2 separate regions of the Homo sapiens genome follow, and region 1 is linked to region 2. The links are contacts of gene promoters, found by promoter capture Hi-C in human tissues and cell types (Jung and others, 2019). All regions are on one chromosome and are shown on one strand. Each heading gives the region's core, a stretch centred on a gene start or on the middle of the fragment in contact. The rest is flanking DNA. Distances are from core to core; before and after follow the strand shown. Region 1 overlaps CACNA1C (calcium voltage-gated channel subunit alpha1 C). Region 2 holds the start of DCP1B (decapping mRNA 1B).

What was found. The method cuts DNA at HindIII sites, captures the fragments that hold promoters and counts their contacts. A contact is called where the count stands out against the background at its distance.
Region 1: a contact is called between a fragment that was not itself captured here and the fragment with the promoter of DCP1B in region 2, in 1 of the 25 tissues and cell types used here (aorta).

Annotation. Positions count from the first base shown.
Region 1 is chr12:2,348,550-2,351,625 of GRCh38, reverse strand. The region is part of intron 3 of CACNA1C (calcium voltage-gated channel subunit alpha1 C); the gene reads right to left. Among named protein-coding and RNA genes, the nearest start is that of CACNA1C-IT3, 80 kb to the right of the region's middle. RefSeq lists an enhancer at 1-281. The HindIII fragment of the contact is 4,220 bases long and covers 1-3,076 here.
Region 2 is chr12:2,002,706-2,006,305 of GRCh38, reverse strand. It overlaps DCP1B (decapping mRNA 1B), which reads left to right and starts at 1,849. Exons shown (of 9, transcript NM_152640.5): 1 at 1,849-2,024. The coding sequence starts at 1,875. It also overlaps a transcript of CACNA1C not described here. RefSeq lists enhancers at 1,574-1,803, 2,128-2,767. The HindIII fragment of the contact is 10,654 bases long and covers 761-3,600 here.

The sequences.
Region 1 (3,076 bases), core at 500-2,999, 350 kb before region 2:
AGAAATAACCCATCCCTCCACTGCCAGCCACGCCCTGGACCCTAAGGTCCCTCAACTCCTGCATCAGCCACCCTTGAGGAGAGGAAGGACAGAAGGGTGGGGCAGGCCCTATGCCACCCATTGCTGACAGGGCAACTGAGGAAACCAGACCACCTCCAGGGCCAGGAAGTGGCCTTGGGGACCGCTGCCTTGTTTATTCCAGGCCGCTTCAGCAGAGGCCAGGTGAAGGGAGATGGTTTTGCTTCAGCCAATGGCCATCGGAGGCTGGGGTGGGGGCTGCTCTCTGAGCACTGGGCAAGGCAGAATTAGAACAGCAGATCAACCCAGGCGATTTCGGCCACCTTCGCCCCAGGGGACATTTGGCAGTATCTGGAGACATTTTTGGTCATCACAGCTGGGGGTACGGCGTGACTGCTACTGGTACCCAGTGGGTAGAGGCCAGGGATACTGCTAAACATCCTACCATGCACAGGCCAGCCCCAGACAAGAAAGAATTATCCATCCCCAAATGTCAATAGGGCCAAGGCCAAGAAACTTCCATTAGAGTATCTGAAACAGTTCACTCAGAAATTGCCTTCAGAAGGGGCCCGAGGGAACAGACCAGAGGGCCTGGCTAGGGCCAGTGGCTGGAGCTGCTCCAGGGCAGCCTTCGGCTTGAGTTTATGAACAAGAACTTTCTATCAACTAGATGGACATCCAAGGGCTTCTCCATCATCCTTGCTTGATTCGACAGGTCCTGCCAAGAAGGCTACAAAGGACTCCTGAGTCAGGTGGAAGAATAAACAGGGTGACCTCCAGGGTCCTTCCAACCTGAAGACTCTGGTGTCCTGCGACATGGGGAGGTGCCTGCGAAAGGGGGCAGAGCTCAGCAATTGTCCAGGGGAAAGGGCTTGGAAAAAAGAGGACTCCATTCAGGCCAATGGCAGCTGAGCCGCCGAGCCTGAAGACAGCCTCTGCTGCCCATATGAGGGGGTGACCAGCCATTCATCATCCAGGCATTCGGGCTCTTCAGTTCATGGGCATCAATGGCCCCGCAGCCCAGCACACTTCCTCTTCTGTTTGCCATCATTGTGGACACATTCAGGCCCCATTGCCCCCTTGATCTTTCTCTTTCTGCTACTTAAAAGGCTTAGAGATGAAAGAGACAGATTCTGGAGCCAGACTGTCTGGCTGAAATCAAAGCAACATCACTATTTGTGTGTGCTTGGGCAAGTTATATGACTGTTTACTACCTCAACTTCCTCATCTGTAAAATGGGAGAGTCACAGTCTCCTACCTAACAAGGCTGCTAGGAAGTAAAGGCTTCAGCAGCATCTGGCCCATGACCACCCCTCACTCAGTGTTGATAATCACTCATCTCATCACAACCCACCCCTGGGGAAGGTCCAGTCAGGGACTCCTCTCTGCTTTGGATCTTCACCTGATGGAGGTGAGGTGGGGTCTCTGGTCTCACACTAGTGTTGTGAGAGAAGGCACGAACAGCAAGAAGGAATTCCTTATAGGCCCCCCAAAAGGAGGTTACTAGAAGATCACCTTCTCACTAGACAGTGAACAAACATGACTCCTAAGAGGGGTGTCATAGCCAAAAACCCAAAAAGGAATTCTGAAACCTTTCGTGAATGCTGGGGCCACCCCTTTGTCCTGGCTCCATTTCTTTCTCTGACTGTCTCTGCAACCACATCTACACATACTGATCCATGGAAAACGACTCTTCTTTCCTCCCCAAGACTAAGTAAATCACAAATTTCAAAACTCCTAGTCAGATTGCAATCTTTCCTGAGCACCTAGTACATGGAGAGCCCCTTTCGGAGGGTGCTGTGTGCCAGACACTGTGCAAGGTGCGTTCCTCCCATACAACCATCCTATCCCCATTCTGCAGATGAAGAAACAGAGGCTCAGAGAACTCACGTAGCTCCAGACTCGCAAGAGCTCCTGGTTTAAAGCCAGATCCGTGGGACCACTGCAGAGCTCTTCCTACCCTCTGCAGTACCTTCCTCCTGAGTCCAGACACCACCTTTCACACCCATGGCAATGCCAAGCAGGGGCTAAAATTCCAGAGGGGAGGAGGGCAGGGGGCAGACGTGGGAGCTCTTCTCTGCTTTGCATGCTGCGCCCCTACTCAAAATGCCCCCAGGCTGGCAGAGGCAAGCATCTGCTTGTAAAATGTTTATTTCACCTGAGCCCTTCCATTTTTCTTCTTAACTTTAAAAAAAACGATGATTCCAATTGAGACAGTACTAGAGAATCTCCCTGCGAGTCTGTTGAAATTCCATACCCAGTTAGAACCCCACCCAAACTGCTCTATGTCCCAACGCTGCCAGGGGCCACTTTCCACACCAAGGTTCCACTCACACAGGACCATGGGACTTCATGCTGGCCACATCTCAGTCCTAACGGTGTTTGTATTGTATTCTACCCTTCTGACGTTTTCCAGTCCATGGGAACATGCTATTAGAGCAGACCCCTCCCGTGACCTTGGTGTAGTGCTGAATGCCATCAGTAGAGCAGGTCACCATCCTCTATTAGGCCTCAGTTTCCCCATGTTATAGATGAAGGGGCTGGATAAGATAACCCACAGTCTTTTCTGGCACCACCGTCCTTCAATTCAGTGTGTTTTGGGTGACAGCCATTTTCTTCACCATTCTGGGCTAACTGAACTCCAAAGTATCATACCAGTTAGCCAGTCGATGCCTGCCTCTAAGAGGAATTCCATTAAGGAGGACTTTAGGAATTGGGTTCACTTTGAAGGAGGCTTTTTCCTGCCGGGCTCTGAATGCTGACATGACGGGTAACATCCAACAGCCCCACCCTGTGTCTGGGAAGTCCAGCCATGAGCAAGCTTGAAGCTACTCTCCCATGCCACCCAGTTCCCGAGGAAGGAACCTTTCCCCCGAGACATTCCCAGCTCCTTCTCCAGGGCGCCCCACACTCTGGGTCCCTCTGGGAGAAATCTTAAAGTGTGGCAGCAGACGGAAGCATGAGTTTATATTCAGCATGCCAAACATTCTCTGGACGGCTTCTAAACATAACCAGGCCTTAATATAGTGTCTCTTCTTGTGCCGACGACTTGAAATCC
Region 2 (3,600 bases), core at 600-3,099:
CTCCCGAGTATCCGGGATTACAGGTACCTGCCACCACTCCTGGCTAATTTTTGTATTTTTAGTAGAGACGGGGTTTCACCATGTTGGCCAGGCTGGTCTTGAACTACTGACCTTGTGATCCGCCCGCCTCAGCCTCCCAAAGTGCTGGGATTACAGGCAGGAGCCACCGCACCTGGCCCACTCTTAAAAATTATTAAGGACTCCCTCAGAGAACTTTTGTTTATGTGAGTTATACCCACCTATATTTACCATATTGGAAATTAAAAATAACTTTAAAGACCCCGGGCTATGTGTGTTTTGTTTGGAGTATATGAAGAAACTCTGGCCTCATATGTAGATAATGTAGTTGGAAAAGAGATGGATATTTTAATAGAGTTTTTCAGACAATTGTGGATATTCTTCTTGGATAATATACCAAAACTTGACAAGCTGGAGTTTCTCAAAGCTTAGCTGCAATGTACTATCTGAAATCCTATTAACTTTTCATACTGTTACATTAAAAATCCATTAGTCCACCTTGTCCTTGAATGGATCTTTTGCCTGTGCATGATTATGTAGCATGAGACATTGGTCTTTTGGAAAATACTGGACCACTGAGTTAAGCAGATCTTTGAGATATTGACACTTTCCATTATACAAGATTTGTTAAAATTGCGCTCATTAATATCATCACTGATCTCATCAGAAAAAAAAACATTAAGTACTGAGATGTCAAGCTCATGGCAGTAGATACACATTTTCTAAACTTTTAATTCTGGCTTGAAGGCTTAAAAATTATCATTGGCAGCAGTAATTGTCCCTTGTTTTCCTGAAAGTGACAGGCACACTTTATTTATTTTCAGAAAAATGTCTGTCAAGTACCTGTTTGAATAATCATAGTTTGCCCATCTTTCTTTCAAGTAAAAATGTTTTATGAAAATAAAAATAAAAACATGAATTCGGCCTACAACTCAAGCACAGAAGTATTTTCCTAGAGACAAATATGACACACTTCATTTTGCAGCAGACGTGCTTTATGCCTATTTCCTATTTTTTCATGCAGAATGTTAAAAAGAATTGTACCCAAGGATTAAGCTTCAATGAAATTAATAATTCTTACTGCTTATCAAGAACACCATCAGGTGACACTGGCTCTCTACCTTCTTCTTTTTTTTTTTTTCTTTTGTAACTGAGAGTGCAGATTAGTGACGCGTACTTTGACTAGCAATACAGTTTGGTGCCCCTGCCTTGATTGGGTTAAACCACCGGCGCTTTTAACCACCATTGTCTGCAAAACGTCACCACAGTGAACAAGTCAAATAAGTAAGTCTCAGCATTGTCATAAAAGGTTTTGTTTTTTTTTTGACCTTGCAGATCCCCTGAAAGGGTCTCAGAAACTCCCAAAGGGTTCCAGGACCACACCACACTTTGAGAACCACTGGGTGTTAGCGCATTCAGAAATCAATTCAGTTCTCTTTCTCTTCAGAGTTCTTGATGCTCGAGGCTTATTTATTGTGATAGATTTGATCACTGAAGCGCCAAAGAAAAGATATGCCAAGGGGTCGAACACATCCAAGAAGGAAATCCTACCGCACACACAGCTCAAAGGCTCGAGCGCGTAGAAAAACAGCTCTTGGAGAAAGAAACGGGATGCAGAGGGCAGGCCTGGGCTTGTCGTTGCCAGTGGCAACGATCCTCAGTGGGCGGGGCGCGGCCATCGATTAGTGAGGCCTTGCGTCTGTCGGCGGGCAGGAGGGTGGGGGTGACTGGAGCCGGAAGGCCTCCCGGGCCGTGTGGTCGCCGTGGGTTCTCGGTTGCGAGGCAGCTCGCTCGTTCTGCGATCTATTGAGAGTGGCTTCCAAGAGCCCCGTGCCTATGTCTGGGAGGGAGGGAAGATGGCAGCCGTGGCGGCAGGCGGCCTGGTGGGAAAGGGGCGCGACATCAGCCTAGCGGCCCTGCAGCGCCACGACCCCTATATCAACCGCATCGTGGACGTGGCCAGCCAGGTGGCTCTGTACACCTTCGGCCATCGGGCCAACGAGTGGGTGCGTGCGGACGCGGCGGAGCAGTGCAGCCCAGGGTTGGGGTGGAGGCGGGGGGCGTCAGACTCAGGACTTGAGGACCCGGTGAGGGGGAGGAGACGTTGACGCCCTGGAAGTGGGTGGATCTGGGGACTGAGGCCGAAGTTGTGGAGATGGGGTCTCGGGGGTTTGGGGGAAGGAAGGCGGATCTGTGGAGCTACCTGGAGTTGGGGAAAAGACTTAAATCTCTAACGTACCCAACGCTGGGAGACCAGACCGATCGGGTACGGCACCATAAGAGCCGAAGGAAAGGAAGGACCTGATACCTTATGGCCGGAAGACCGATGTGCTCGAGAAAGTAGAGCAGAGTTCTGTTACAGTGAATCTGTGGCTATGGGGGAGGCAGGGACAGCAGACGAATAAAAGTGCAGAGTTCTGATTTTGGAATGTCAGTCTTAGATGGGGCAAAGAGAAATCAAAACTTGATAGAAGGGGAGAAATCTGCAAGTTGTAAACTTAAGGGGAAACACCAAGAAAAGAGCCAACCTCGTCAAATAAAAGACAAAATGGGGCAGGGTCTAACACTTAGAAGGAAGCTGATGCTCTTGGGAAGATTATTACACGGCAGCACACCAAGTTCGATATTGGAGGTCATTTGGGAGCCAAATTATTTTAGTGCTCTTCTCAAAGCAGAGTCCCAGTAAATGGTAATGGAATGAAATTTCATTTTCCTCATAGTTAGAATGGGGTAGAAGCCTAGAACACTGGAATCCTGTTGCAGGGATTGCTGCTTGTAATTTTGTAACCCACCCACTCGAATGTAGAGACATGTAATTTTGTTTCTTTACTCATAATGAGTTTTGTCCAAATAATATTCATCATCCATTATGTATCACATACATGATATCCATCATTTTAAAATAAGTTACAAAACAGTATGGAGAACTTAGCCTTGATGAATGGATTTCAGATAAACTTTTTGTGTTCTTCAAGTCGGTTGTATAAACATCAAAACTTAATCTAGGAAAACATCCATGTTGAACAACTCTGTATTTTTTTTAACACCCACATTCATAAGCCTACTTATCTGCAGTATAGTTCAGCAGCCTGTAGTAAAAAACTCACCTGAAAATCATTAACATAAAAATAAAAAGACAAGCAAGAATGGGGTAGACAAACAGTTTTGCCCAAAGTTCTTAACGGAGGAAATTTGCCGGAATGGGGCAAAGAATTTAGGTCTGCTCTCCTAGTAGCCAAACACAAAAGGAGAACAGGAAGAGCTCTTTAATATTCGTTCTTCTGTAATAGAAAGTGTACCTCTTGATCAGGAGAAAGAGGTTATTTCCCCCTAGTTTCCAGGGGAATTTGTCACCTACTTTTTTTGTTTGTTTTTGTTTGTTTGTTTTTTCGAGGTGTCACCTTCGTTTTTACATAAAGAACATTGAGCAACATAGACAGTTTCCTCCATGGTAATTAAAAATATATAAAAAGATATTCTACATATGGCTATTTTGCTGCTCTGTAGAAAAATGCTAAAGGTATAATGTTATAATCCTGTAAAAGTAATTCCGTAGTAGAGAGATGAGGACCAGGGATGTAT